Linked DNA regions of Homo sapiens: regions 1, 2, 3 and 5 are each linked to region 4. Evidence: promoter capture Hi-C in human tissues and cell types (Jung and others, 2019). All regions are on one chromosome and are shown on one strand. The core of a region is centred on a gene start or on the middle of the fragment in contact, and the rest is flanking DNA. Distances in the headings are between cores, read along the strand shown.

Evidence for each region. The method cuts DNA at HindIII sites, captures the fragments that hold promoters and counts their contacts. A contact is called where the count stands out against the background at its distance.
Region 1: a contact is called between a fragment that was not itself captured here and the fragment with the promoter of SCARF2 in region 4, in 3 of the 25 tissues and cell types used here (IMR-90 fibroblasts, dorsolateral prefrontal cortex and spleen).
Region 2: a fragment that was not itself captured here is called in contact with the fragment with the promoter of SCARF2 in region 4 in 1 of the 25 tissues and cell types used here (hippocampus).
Region 3: a contact is called between a fragment that was not itself captured here and the fragment with the promoter of SCARF2 in region 4, in 3 of the 25 tissues and cell types used here (dorsolateral prefrontal cortex, hippocampus and lymphoblastoid cells).
Region 5: a contact is called between a fragment that was not itself captured here and the fragment with the promoter of SCARF2 in region 4, in 2 of the 25 tissues and cell types used here (liver and thymus).

Annotation. Positions count from the first base shown.
Region 1 is chr22:20,720,899-20,723,598 of GRCh38, reverse strand. PI4KA (phosphatidylinositol 4-kinase alpha) reads left to right here. Exons shown (of 55, transcript NM_058004.4): 43 at 2,181-2,301. Among named protein-coding and RNA genes, the nearest start is that of SERPIND1, 52 kb to the left of the region's middle. The HindIII fragment of the contact is 5,585 bases long and covers 1-2,700 here.
Region 2 is chr22:20,816,571-20,819,303 of GRCh38, reverse strand. It overlaps PI4KA (phosphatidylinositol 4-kinase alpha), which reads left to right. Exons shown (of 55, transcript NM_058004.4): 7 at 755-821. Among named protein-coding and RNA genes, the nearest start is that of PI4KA, 41 kb to the left of the region's middle. The HindIII fragment of the contact is 4,714 bases long and covers 1-2,733 here.
Region 3 is chr22:20,749,539-20,752,321 of GRCh38, reverse strand. It overlaps PI4KA (phosphatidylinositol 4-kinase alpha), which reads left to right. Exons shown (of 55, transcript NM_058004.4): 26 at 567-648; 27 at 946-1,029; 28 at 2,328-2,417. Among named protein-coding and RNA genes, the nearest start is that of SERPIND1, 23 kb to the left of the region's middle. RefSeq lists enhancers at 58-855, 1,877-1,996. The HindIII fragment of the contact is 5,728 bases long and covers 1-2,783 here.
Region 4 is chr22:20,436,418-20,439,117 of GRCh38, reverse strand. SCARF2 (scavenger receptor class F member 2) reads left to right here and starts at 1,293. Exons shown (of 11, transcript NM_182895.5): 1 at 1,293-1,536. The coding sequence starts at 1,364. LOC107985588 (a long non-coding RNA gene) reads right to left here and starts at 1,122. Exons shown (of 2, transcript XR_001755623.2): 1 at 607-1,122. The HindIII fragment of the contact is 17,878 bases long and covers 1-2,700 here.
Region 5 is chr22:20,848,421-20,851,120 of GRCh38, reverse strand. All of the region lies in intron 1 of PI4KA (phosphatidylinositol 4-kinase alpha), which reads left to right. Among named protein-coding and RNA genes, the nearest start is that of PI4KA, 9.0 kb to the left of the region's middle. The HindIII fragment of the contact is 9,318 bases long and covers 1-2,700 here.

The DNA of each region.
Region 1 (2,700 bases), core at 155-2,654, 280 kb before region 4:
TTGGCCTCCCAAAGTGCTGGGATTACGGGCGTGAGCCACCACACCCAGCCTATTTTTGTATTTAATAGACATGAGGTTTCCCCATGTTGGTCAGGCTGGTGTCAAACTCCTGACCTCAGGTGATCCACCTGCCTCGGCCTCCCAAAATGCTGGGATTACAGGCGTGTGCCACCACACCCAGCCTGGAATATTTTTTAAGTTTAAAAAAATTTATATCACTATGGCAATACAAATGTATATACATATTTGTTTATACTTTTACAAAAAAAGGGAACAGTAGGCCGGGCGCGGTGGCTCACGCTTGTAATCCCAGCACTTTGGGAAGCCGAGGCGGGTGGATCACGAGGTCAGGAGATCGAGACCATCCTGGCTAACACGGTGAAACCCCGTCTCTACTAAAAATACAAAAAAAGATTAGCCAGGCTTGGTGGGCACCTGTAGTCCCAGCTACTCGGGAGGCTGAGGCAGGAGAATGGCGTGAACCCGGGAGGCGGAGCTTGCAGTGAGCTGAGATTGCACTCCAGCCTGGGAGACAGAGCGAGACTCTGTCTCAAAAAAAAAAAGGAACAGTAAATCAAAAGTTAATAAAAATGGCCAAAGAGGGAGAGATCAGGATGGAACTGACAGATATGTACCATATTTAATAATTTTGACTTTGGAACTCTGTCAGTGTTTACATAATTAAAAAGCAAACTTATATTTAAAAACACTACACATTGAACATTCATAGTTTGTCTTTAGATCCATTTGCCGGGTTAGAATTGGGAAACCCAAAGTGAAGACTTCTGCCTGTGTGGTAAGACCACCCCCGACTCACCCAGGTCAAAAATGTCCATCCAAGGGACACTTCACCAGATCAGTGGCCACAGACTCCAGGAGGCTGCCCAGAAAGGCCAGCTCACCTTTTTAAACCTAGGGCATGGAATTAAAACTGGAGTTTCAAAACTTATGGCTCTAGGAACAAAAAAAATTTTTTTAATTAAAAAGAAAAACTGGAGTTACTACTATGAGTGGCGGAAAATGACCAAGAAGGAAGAGGAGGATAGGTCCTTAGGATGGTGACCACAGTTGTGTATATTAGTCCATTTTCACACTGCTATAAAGAACTTCCTGGCCAGGTGCGGTGGCTCATAACTGTAATTCCAGCACTTTGGGAGGTTGAGGTGGGTGGATCACCTGAGGTGAGGAGTTCAAGACCAGCCTGAACAACATGGCGAAACCCTGTCTCTACTAAAAATACAAAAATTAGCCAGATGTGGTGGTGTGCGCCTGTAATCCCAGCTACTCGGGAGGCTGAGGCAAGAGAATTGCTTGAACCTGGGAGGTGGAGGTTGCAGTGAGCTGAGATTGTACCACTGCACTACAGCCTGGGTGACAGACCGAGACTCTGTCTCAAAAACAAACAAACAAACAAAAAAACTTCCCGAGACTGGGTAATTTATAAAGGAGGCTTAATTGACTCACAGTTCCACGTGGCTGGGGAGGCCTCAGGAAACAGAATCATGGTGGAAGGGGAAGTAGGTCCGTCTTACCTGGCAGCAAGCGAAAGAGAGCAAGTGTGTGTGTAGGAGGAACTGTCAAACATTTATAAAACCATCAGATCTCCTGAGAACTCATTCGCTGTCATGAGATCAACAAGGGGGAACCGTCCCCATGATCCAGTCACCTCCCACCAGGTCTCTTCCTCAACACCTGAGGATTACAATTCAAGATGACATTTGGGTGGGGACACAAAACCTAATCATATCAGTGTGTCAGTTTGTGAAGGAGGTATCTCTGCATGTTTCTGGAACCTGTCTGTCACTTTGGAACATTGTTCTAAACAACCAGCTCACAAGTGAGTTTTTAGTACCCAGCCTGCTTTTTCTCGTACTTGACAACTCCAGAAATTGGTTTGAGAGTTGTGCTTCTTAAACCCATGGGAAGACACAGAGGAGACAAAGGCTGACTGTCGCCCGCTTTGCAACCCTGCCCCCCAGGTCCCAGCCCCCAGCCAGCTGGAACTTGGCCTGGCCACTGGCTGGACTCAACATCAATCCTGGAGAGCTTGTCCACACCACTAGAGCCACCGGGCCTTACCCTTGCCTGGTCTACCAAATGCCGGGAGTCAGCAGCTGCTGACAAGGCCCTCCTCATGGAGAGGGCCGAGCCTGGCTGACAGGGACCTTGCTCTCCTGCAGATGGGCTATGTGCGGGAGTATATTCTGTGGGCAGCGTCTAAATCCCAGCTTCTGGCACACCAGTTCATCTGGAACATGAAGACTAACATTTATCTAGATGAAGAGGGCCACCAGAAAGACCGTGAGTATTTTGTCCTCCCACAGGCCTCACTTACTGTCTTCAGTGCACTGCCAAGCACCTTCTACAGCCCCCAGGGCTCTCGCCAGCCTGCACTGCCCCAGCTCACCGACCCCTCCACTCCCACCCTTTGCTGGGGCACTTCTCACCTTTCAGCACACAGGGGAGCAGGACCCCTCCTTCATGACACCTTTGCTAACTTGCTGTCCGATGCCACCCTGCACTCCCAAGTGCGAGTGAGACCCTTCTGCTCCAGTGGCTGCTTCTGCAGAGTCTCCATGGTCAACACAACTGTGACTGCATGTGAGGAAGGGGCCGTCAGCCCAGGGCAGCGGTTCCCAAATAGCACAGCCTCAGGACCCCTGCACTGTCAGAAATGTTTATTGAGGTCCTCAAAGAGCG
Region 2 (2,733 bases), core at 57-2,556, 380 kb before region 4:
CACTCCTTTAAAACATGAAAATATGGCCAAACATACAGACTCCTAGTTAAGCCTGCTCCCACTAACTGCTGTCCAATAAGTTGAAAATATACTGTTTAAACACAAAAAAAATTCATTTAAACTGCCGCTACTATAGATTACACATATGACACACTGCCTCCCTTTCACCGTTTCGCCCTAAACATCTGCTTCTTAAATCTAAGTGATTATACTCAATAAATAGTGTAAAAACCAAAACTCTAGGCCTTTGCGGCCTCTGATTTGCTCTGGTCCCCTGGCTCCCGCCTTTATAAACTCTTAACCTGTTTCTTCTCATTCCTTTGTCGCCACCAAACATCAAATACCCTACAGGTGGTGTTGAGGCTAGTCCCCAACATAAGATTTATAAGTGATTTCATAGTCATAAAGTATATGTTTCATAGCAGTTGGGTGCCAAATGCTATTTTGCCTGGAAGACAGTTGGTGCCCTTAAGAAGTATATAATTGACTCATGGAGAAAAGACAAAAACACAAAACACTGAGGACAATTCAGCTCAGTAATCAAGTGTCAAATATACGGCTAAACACAAAGAATTTAGTGATATAGCATGTAGTAGAGAATGCTGTAGCTGTGATGGGCTTTAGGAAGGAAATGAGGCTTCAACCAGAACTTGAAGTACAAACATTGGGCTGGCAGAGAGGACCTTGTCTAAGACAAATCTGATGGAGGTCTCACTGGTCTTTTCTGATATGTAACTGTGGTTGTGTGTTTCAGGTCAGCCCTGAACGCGGCATGCCCCCTCCCAGTTCCCCTGGAGGATCTGCCTTTCACTACTTTGAAGGTGGGCTTCACCTTTCCGAAGAATATTTTGACGTAATACTTGGAGAACAGGCTCACAGTGACTTCTCGTGATATTAAGGATGCTGATACTAACTCTGTTGTCATGGATGGACCTAGAGTGCCAAGCTTTTAGGAAGCATTTATTTTCTGTTTTCATTTAAGTTTCTTAAAATTTAATTTTCAAATATTTTATATATAGAGAAAAGTACATTTAATTTTCAAATATTTTATTTAGAGAGAAAAGTACAGAAAATAACTTACAGACCCCTATATACCTGCCATCAGAATTTTTGCACTTTAACTTGTAAAAGTTCTTTTCAGGTGGAAGTACTAATGGTGGATATTTCTTTTCTTTTTCTGAGATAGAGTCTGGCTCTGTTGCCCAGGTTGGAGCGCAGTGGTGTAGTCTCGGCTCACTGCAGGCCCTGCCTCCTGGGTTCAAGCAATTCTCTTGCCTCAGCCTCCCAAGTAGCTGGGATTACAGGCACACACCAGCATGCTCAGCTAATTTTTGTATTTTTAGTAGAGACAGGGTTTCACCATGGTGGCCAGGCTTGTCTTGAACTCCTGACCTCAAGTGATCCACCCATTTCTTCCTTCCAGAGTGCTAGGATTACATGCATGAGCCACCACACCTGGCTGGACATTTTTTTTTAATGACATTAAGTATGTAGATAATATTAAAGAATGTAGTAATACTACTGTTACTACTTTTTTTTTTTTTTTTTTTTTTTTTTTTTTTTTTTTTTGGAGAGAGAGTCTCACTCTGCCACCCAGGCTGGAGTGCAGCGGCATGATCATGGCTCACCGCAGCTTCAACCTTCTGGGCTCAAGTGATCCTCCCACCTCAGCCTCCCAAGTAGCTAGGACTATAGGCACCCTCCACAACGCCCACTAACTTGTGTATTTTTTGTAGAGATGGGGTTTTGCCATGTTGCCCAGGCTGGTCCGGAACTCCTAGGCTCAAGGGAACGCCTGCCTTGGTCTCTCAAAGTGCTAGGATTACAGCCGTGAACCACCATACCCAGCCCATTACTACTTTTTATAGAGCTCTGCTGTTCACAAAGTACTTTTACATAATTTACTGAATTGGATTCATGTGACTACCCTGTGCCATGTCAGACACATGTTAAAATTATTTCTACCTTACTTGATGGAAGTAAGACCCAGATTAAGGGACAGCAAATGGGGAAGGCAGAATTCCATGCTTCAGTATAGTCTCTCCTTTTTTGAATAATGCTATTTGTTAAAAGAGCATGTCTCAAGACAGTTTCGAGAGATGTGAGGGGAATTTTGAAGGAAAAAGGGAATATCTGGGCTTACATAAATGTAGGAAGCTTTCCATCTCTTAGATCTGTGAGAATGTAACAGGTTACATTCTATATATGTGTTAGAATATAAGAGCTAATTTCAGCCACTCAGAATCGCACCTCTTAGAGACAACTCCTTGTTTAAGTATAGAATGTATTCCTCCAGGCTCTGAAAATCTCACTGCCACCTGCCTGCCTTTGGGGCATTTTAGGATGGCCATGATGTGCCCTTGGAGGCTTCCCTTTTCCTGGTAAACAGCTCATTGTCCACCCTCTGTGGTGAGGGCTCCTCTCCATGACCGCTGCCCCACTTTGAGCACATCCAGTAAGTGGCAGATGGGAGCACACTAATGTGGCTGACTGCGAGATCCCCACGTATCACTCCATCAGACTTGGCTGCCGCCCACTTTGCCTGTAGTGGTGACGAGACAAGCGAGCCCTGCTCTCTGAAATGCCTCACTGTAGGACAGACAGCAGCAGACCCTGTGCCTTCTGAGTTTCCTCTCAAACTACCTGTTTTACTTGGACTTTTTCTTTTTTTTGAGTTGGGGTCCTGCTCTGTCACCCAGGCTGGAGTGCAGGGGTGCAGTCATAATGATCCTC
Region 3 (2,783 bases), core at 15-2,514, 310 kb before region 4:
CCTGGTCCAGGCAGCAGCGCCACCACAGGTGGTCAGGAGCCAGCCAGGGGTCACGAGAACGAGTCCAGCACACACGTGGCGTGTGTCTGAGCTGGGCTTCCTGAGCAGTGGGCCACTGGTGGGTCACAGCTGTGCAGAGACACCTCTCCTTCAGCCCTGGGGCCATCGGAGCCCATGGCCTGTCTTACCCCAGGGTGTCAGGTAGATACTGTTGTTTTCTCCATTATGTGAGAAATAATGGAGAACCCTGGTCAGAAACTAAGAGGATTGCTTTGGAAAGTGAGGGGTGTCCTGGCCAGTGCATAACCAAGGCAGTTGGTGTCAGGTTTGTCTGGCCCTAAGAAGTGGGGCTGGCAGGGGCCTGGGGAGCCTTTCTGACCAGGCGTTGCTCACCTTACTGCAATGAGCCTGAGGAGGCCAGGCATCCTGCTGCAAGGGCCTCCCGACCTCCTCCTTCAGCTGGCCTGAAGCAGATATGGGCTCGGGCTGGCAGCTGAGGGGGCTCCTAGAAGCAGACCTTCCTTGGAGGTTTGGCTCTTGGTCCTGAGAGCTGGCTCTTGGTGCAGGTTTCCCCACTTGCTCTGGAGCGGGACTGTGCTGAAGACCATGCTGGACATCCTGCAGACCCTGTCACTGTCACTGAGCGCTGTGAGTGTCCCCAGGAGACCTAGGGCCCAAACACCACCCGCTCTACCACCACCCCGCCGGCCCTGTCCGCCCTGTGTTGTGGCATGCTTCTCTGACAATAAGCCTGAACATAATTAATGCTACAGGTGTCGAGTTGGGGGTGAGGGGGCCCAAATCCACCTGGTGTTTTGCAATAAGTTGCATCAAGTATGGAGGCCTGTCACAGACAGACAGGTGGTGGGTAGGGGTGGCCCATGTGGTTGCTAGTGGCAACTTGGGGAAGGCAGTTTGGAAGAGGGAGTCTTGCTGTGCTTGCAGGATATTCACAAGGATCAGCCTTACTATGACATCCCCGACGCCCCCTACCGGATCACGGTTCCTGACACGTACGAAGCCCGTGAGGTAGGCCCGACACGATCCCCTGCACTAAGGGCCATCTTTACCACAATTCCCTGAGTATTTCCACGAGATGGTCAACCTGCATGAGCTCACCCAGTCCCCAGCAATTTGAGGTGTGGGTGGTGCTGGCCCCATCCCCCAGTGAGGAGACCAAGCCATTGCCAGGCTCCACCGAGTGCAAGGGGAGCTGGCTGCCCCCAGGTCGCTCTGTCTTCCAAGCCCAGCTCCCCCACCTCAGCCATGTTGACTCAGCTGTGTTCTCGGTTTAGCTGCCAAAGAGGTCTTCAGCTACCAGCCAGTTTATAGCCTCTCGAGTCTGCGTCGCACAAGCATGATTTTCAGGTGGACTTCACTTCTCTGAGGTGCACTGACATTTTGTTATTGTGGTAATAGGGGATCATGCCTTTGACTTGTGCTATCCAATGGGGAAACTGGCAGAATAAATCACTCCAAAAGAGGAGGATGTACTGGGTCTCTCCTCTCCCCAACTCGGTCTCAGAGCCCTCACTGTGGCAAGACTGCAACTCAGCTCACAGCTCCTTCAGCCTGGGCTGAGTCATGTCCTACCTCTGGACCTCTGCCAGACCAGCTGTCAATGGGGAGTTTCCCACAGAGTGGTGTGGCACCGAAGAGGATTTTGCCACGCAGAGCCTGCCCTTCCATCCAGTCCCAGACCCAGGACACAAGTTGCACAGTGTCCCTGTGACATGTTATTCTTGTAGATTCTGCCACAAACCTTGTGCAGGAATTACATACAGATCATAGTGTGTGTGGGCTTCCTGGCCCCAGGGGCCTTGAGGTTCAAACTTAGTGGCTGTGCTAGTCTCTTGGGCTTCTGTAGCAAAAGACAATAGACTGGGCAGCTTGAAAGGTCTTGACAGACATTGATTGTCTTACAGTTCTGAGGGCCGAAGTGTAAAATCAAAGTGTTGGCAGAGCTGGTTTCTGTGGAGACCTCTCTCCTTGGCTTGTGAATGGCAGCCTTCTCCCTGTGTCTTTACGTGTTCTTCCCTCTGTGCACACCCTCCTCCCTGCCCCAGTATTTCTGTGTGTCCAGATTTCCTCTGCACACACGTAAGGAAGGATACTGGCCAGATTGGATCAGGACCTACCCTATCAGCCTTTTAATTGAATCACCTCTTTAAAGCCCTATCTCCAAATGAGTTCCACTCTGAGGTACTGGTACCAGTTAAGGCGCAGCATAGGGATTTGGGGAGACATAGTTCAGCCCATGACAGTCACTACGGCAGCTCAGATGAACTGACCTCGGGTTGTTGAGAAGCAGCTTCACCCTCTTCCAGAGCATTGTGAAGGACTTCGCTGCACGCTGTGGGATGATCCTCCAGGAGGCCATGAAGTGGGCACCTACCGTCACCAAGTCCCACCTGCAGGTACTTGAAACCATCAAAAGGCAATTGCCATAAGCTCCTTCAAACTCCCAAAAAAGCTTTACAGAGACATGAAGAACTCAAAATCCAAATAGCACTAGTGTGAATGGAGACTGGAAGCATCAGTCTAGGGCCTGAGAATAATAGATGCCTCAGAGGCTGCTCTGTGTGTTAGGAGCGCCTGTGGGGCCAGTGCTGGCCAGGGCACAAGGAGGGCATCTGACGGCTCACACCAGGTGAGGTGCCAGGTCTGTGGCAAGACTTGGGGGCTGCTCACGAGAGGAAGGGCTTGTGTGGTGGATGTGGGAGGCTGCCAGATGGCAGCATCTCTAAGTGCCAAGTGCATTGCTGGCACCTGTGCCCAAAGGC
Region 4 (2,700 bases), core at 44-2,543:
CCTGCTCCTCCCCATCCCACTCTCTGCCTGTGCCAGCCTGGTGATGCCCATGGCCTTGGGCCTTTCAGTGGCTCCTCCTCCAAGCCCCCTCCTCCAGCCCCACCCTTCGGGGCTATCTGGCCACACCTGGACAGAGTCTGCCTGCCCTCCCTCAGTGAGCCTGTGGGCCGCATGTGGCCTGCTCCCCAAAGAACGGAGGTGCCCGCTCCCTGCTTAGGCCTTCTGCCAGCTCTCAAGTCCCCAAAAGACAAACATCCTCACTAGGACCTGGCTACACACGGGACATTTGTGCTCCCTGCCCAACTTCCAGAGTCGGTCTGCCCCAGTTGCCCCCCGGGGACCCGCACCCTGCTGCCTCCCAGTCCAAGTCCAGCTTCCCCGCTGGCTCCCTAGGGCCTGTCCCTCTGTCTTGCTCCCTTCCCACACCTTCCTTCTGCTCTGTGCTGTTACCCACCTTACCTGATGCAGGAGTTCCCACTCTCTAGCCCCAGCCTCTCCTGGAAATCCGACAGCCAGCAGAATCCACCGCCCAGGCTCCCCCAGCCCCCTTCACTCCTCAACTAGGACTGCAGGGTTTCCATCCCGGGGGTCTCCTTCTGTCTTTACCTCTACTTCCTACCGCAGTCCACAGCCTGGCCATTCTACTTCCTCTGTATCTCTCCCATCCGTCCCTACGGAGACCCCTTCCCCCAGGCCTCTGGTCCGGACCGAGTCTACCACAGGCCTCAAGCATCCTGCTCGGTCCGCCCCTTGCGAGCTCTGAGTGCGCAGGAGTGCGCAGGGGGAGCTGACCGCACACCCCAGCACTACAAGGACTTCGCGGTGGGGTGCTGTGGAGTTGGCTTTCGGCCTCGACCTGGGCTGTCTGCGGGCCCCACTCCCTTGGCCGGTTCCGAGGCGCTGGGAGCGGGGGTGGGCTTGCGGAGTCGCGTCCGTGTCCCCGATCCGCCTTCCCGTCCCGGGCCTGGCCTACGCAGTGGGCGCGCAGGGGCGGCTGCTTCGGTAGATGTCTAGGGAGCGGAGGGAAAGGCGCGGGAACCGGGGATTCCTCGGGCGGACCCTCCCTCCACCAGCGCTCGGCGGGCCTCCTCCAAGTTCGCCCCCAAGTTTGCGAGCGGCCAAATGGGGGCGGGGGCTGCGCGGAGGGGCGGTGGCTAGGCCGGAGGGTGGGGTCTGGAGCGCGGGGCGGGCGCTGCCGCCTGGCCGGCCGCGGCTGGCCCGGGATCAGGGAGCCGATGTGGAATTTCCTGCCCGGCTCGGCGCCCCTCCTGCCGCCCCCCGCCCGGCCTCGCACTCCGCTTCCGGCCGCTCTCGCTGCGGCCGCACCCGCGCCCGTGCCCGCCCCGCGCCTGCCCCGCGCCTCATGGAGGGCGCAGGGCCCCGGGGGGCCGGGCCGGCGCGGCGCCGGGGAGCCGGGGGGCCGCCGTCACCGCTGCTGCCGTCGCTGCTGCTGCTGCTGCTGCTCTGGATGCTGCCGGACACCGTGGCGCCTCAGGAACTGAACCCTCGCGGCCGCAACGTGTGCCGTGCTCCCGGGTAGGAGCCGGCCTGGCTGGGGGAGGGGGCGAGAGGGACGCTCTGGGCAGTGGTGTGGCGGCGCCGGGCATTGGGAGGGGGCTACCGGAACCTTCCTACGCCAAGTGTGGGCCCCTTCGGCTCCCTAGCCAGCGCGGCTCCGTTCCAGGCCCAGCCTCGGCCATGGGCCACGACAGTGCATCCCAGGGAACCCTGGACGAGAAGTCACCTGAGGGGAGGATGGAGTGCCGTGGGCACCCAGGGGATGACACGCGTTGTCCGGGATATCAGGAAAGACCTGGAAAAAGGGACCCTTGACCGAGTTGTGAAGTCCACGGGGAAAAGCTGGGGAAGGGCATTCAAGCCAAAGGAACTGCATGTGCTAAAGCCCCGCACTAGTCCGACTGGAGCCGGGAGTGGGAGTGAGGAGGAAGGTCAGGGGAGGAGGAGCGGTGCTAGCCGGGGAGGTCCTGGAGCAAGCCAGACTTGGAAAGACAGATTCGCGTCTTAGAGCGGGCGCGGGTGGGAGGGTGGTGACCCAGGCGAGCGTCGAGGAGCCGGCGCTCGAAGTGGACCAGAAGCGGGAGGCGGAAGGACTATGACAGGCACAGGGGACCGGAGGATGTGGGAACCCTGGCGACAACCAGGTGGGGATTCTGGGTGCAAGAAGGGGCCGCGCAAATGTGGGGCGCCGGCTGGGGAAGCCAGTGTGGGACAGGCAGGCGACAGGCCCGGCCGGTGGGGGGGCGAGTCCGGGAGTTTGCACGGAGGGCAGAGAGGTGAGCCCCGGACGCCAGGAGTTAGGAGCTGGGGTCGGGGGAGCCGGTGGGCTGGCCAAAGGCCACAAGGTCAAGGGCATCTCCACGCAGGGGTGAGGAGCGGGCGTGTGGGGGCGCCTTGGCGCGGATTGGAGACGCCGCACGGGCTGGCAGCCGCAGAGGCGGCCGCCGGGCTCCGAGCTGGGTCGCGTCGGGGCGCCTGAGCCACGGACCCGGGGCAAGCCGAGTCCAGGGGCTCGGCGCCAGAGACAAGGGGCTGCGAGGGGGCAGCGCGGGGTTTCCGAACTCTGGTCCGGAGGCGCGCAGACCCCTCCCCGCTGCGAGCCCCGCCTCCGGGGCGGGGGCCGGCCTGGCCCGCCATCTGCTTCGCATCGATGCCGCCGCCGCGGACTCCCGGGCCTCCCCG
Region 5 (2,700 bases), core at 15-2,514, 410 kb before region 4:
CGCAAAGTGCTGGGATTATAGGCATGAGCCACTGTGCCTGGCCTAGACATTTTTAAAAATAGAAATTACATTTTTTTGGAGACAGTTTTGCTTTTTCACTCAGGCTGGAGTGCAGTGGCATGATCATAACTTACTACCACCTTGAATTCCTTGGTTTGAGGGATCCTCCTGCCTCAGCCTCCCAAGTAGTTGGGACTACAGGCACGCACATTGTACCTGGCTAAGTAAAAAAAGAAAAATTTTTTTAGAGATGGGGTCTTACTATCTTGCCCAGGCTTAGCTCAAACCGTGGGCTCAAGTGATCCACTCACCTCAGCCTCTCAAAGTGCTGAGATTATAGGCTTGAGTCACTGTACCCAGCGAAAATTTTAAAAAATTTTAGTAGGCCGGGCGCGGTGGCTCACACCTGTAATCCCAGCACTTTGGGAGGCCGAGGCGGGCGGATCACGAGGTCAGGAAATCCAGACCATCCTGGCTAACACGGTGAAACCCCGTCTCTACTAAAAATACAAAAAATTAGCTGGGCGTGGTGGCCTGTAGTCCCAGCTACTGGGGAGGCTGAGGCAGGAGAATGGCATGAACCTGGGAGGCGGAGCTTGCAGTGAGCTGAGATCACGCCACTGCACTCCAGCCTGGGTGACAGAGCAAGACACCGTCTCAAAAAAAAAAATTTTTTTTTAAATGAGTATTTATAGTCCCAGAGACCTATGGGGACTCCTTTAGCATGCGCCACCACAGTCAGCTAATTTTTTGTATTTTAGTAGAGACGGGGTTCCAGGCTAGTCTTGAACTCCTGGCCTCAAGTGATCCACCTGCCTTGGCCTCCCAAAGTGCTGGTGTTAACAGGCGAGCCACCGTGCCTGGCTTGAGTGTTTAGATTTTTGTTGTGTTACTTTAGGGAATGTTGGGCTTTGTTCTGGTCGGCAGTTGCTTGTGGTTTGATTTGATCCTTCATAGGCTAGGTTTTTCAATAGTGCTTTCTTGAGATATAATTCACATACCACAAAATTTACCCATTTAAAATGTACAGTTCATCATATTTAGTGTATTCACAGAGTTGTCCATCCATCACCATGATCAATTTTAGGTCATTTTCATTGCCCTCAAAAGAAACCTTGCTGTTACCCTGCAGCCCTACCAGCCCCATCCCTAGACAACCACTAGTTTACTTTCTGTCTCTGTAGATTTATTCTGAACATTTTGTAGAAATAGAATTCTATAAGATGTGGTTTTTTGTGGTGGCTTATTTTTATTTTTATTTTTTTTTGAGACAGAGTTTCGCTCTGGAGCCCAGGCTAGAGTGCAGTGGCGCGATCTCGGCTCACTGCAAGCTCTGCCTCCCAGGTTCACACCATTCTTCTGCCTCAGACTCCCGAGTAGCTGGGACTACAGGCGCCCGCCACTGCGCCCGGCTAATTTTTTGTATTTTTAGTAGAGGCAGGGTTTCATCGTGTTAGCCGGATGGTCTTGATCTCCTGACCTTGTTGTGATCCACCTGCCTCGGCCTCCCAAAGTGCTGGGATTACAGGTGTGAGCCACTGCACCTGCCATGATGGTTTTTACTTGGCGTATTTTCAAGGTTCATCCATGTTGTAGCATCTCATTACTTCATTTTTATTACTAAATAATATTTGTATGCATATACCATATTTTATCCATTCATTAGTAGGTGGATGTTTGGATTGTTTCTACATTTTGACTATTATAAATAACGCTGCTATGGAAATTCACGTACAAGTGTTTCTGTAGACATATTTTCATTTCTCTTGGGTCTTTAACTAGATGTGGAATTGCTGGGCCATACAATAACTCTAGGTTTAACCTTTAGAGGAACTCCAGACTGTTTTCCAAAGTTACTACACCATTTACATTCCCACCAACGGTGTACAGAGGGCTTGTTTTCTTTACATTGTCACCAACACTCTGTATTGTCTGTCTTTCCAGTTATAGCCATCCTAGTGGATGTGAAGTGGGATCTTATTATTCTGTTGTTGATATGCATTTGCCTGATGGTTAATGATGTTGAGCCAGCCTATTCTATCCTAGAACAGCCACTCTTTTGGGGTATTTGTAGATCTTCTTTGGAGATATATCTATTCAGATTCTTTGCCCAATTTTAAATTGTAGTATTTTTTTAATTAAGTTGTAATAGTTCTTTATTTTAGATAAAAGTTTCTTAATAAGATATATGATTTGCAAATATTTTCTCCCATTCTGTGGGCTTTTTCACTTTCTTCATGGTGTTCTTTGAAGTACAAAAGTTTTAAATTTTGATGATGTCCATTTTGTCATTTTTTTTTTCTTTTGTCCCTTGTGCTTTTTGTGTTGTATCTAAGAAACCACTGTCTAATTTCAAGGTCACAAAGACTTACACCTGTGTTTTTTGTTAGCAGTTTTATAGTTTAGCTCTTACATTTGAGTTTTTGATCCATTTTGAGTTAAGATTTTATGTGATATGAGATGGGGGTCCAGTTTCATTCTTTTGCATGTGAATATCCAGTTGTCTCAGCACGATTTCTTGGAAAGACTATTCTTTTTTCCATTGAGGGGTCCTGGAACCCTTGTCAAAAATCAGTTGACTGTAAGTGTGAGGGTTTATTTGGTCTGTATGTCTTTCCTGATGTTGGCTAGTATACTGTCTTGATTACTTTAGCTTTGTAGTAAGTTTTGAAATTGGGAAGAATGAGTCCTCCAATTTTG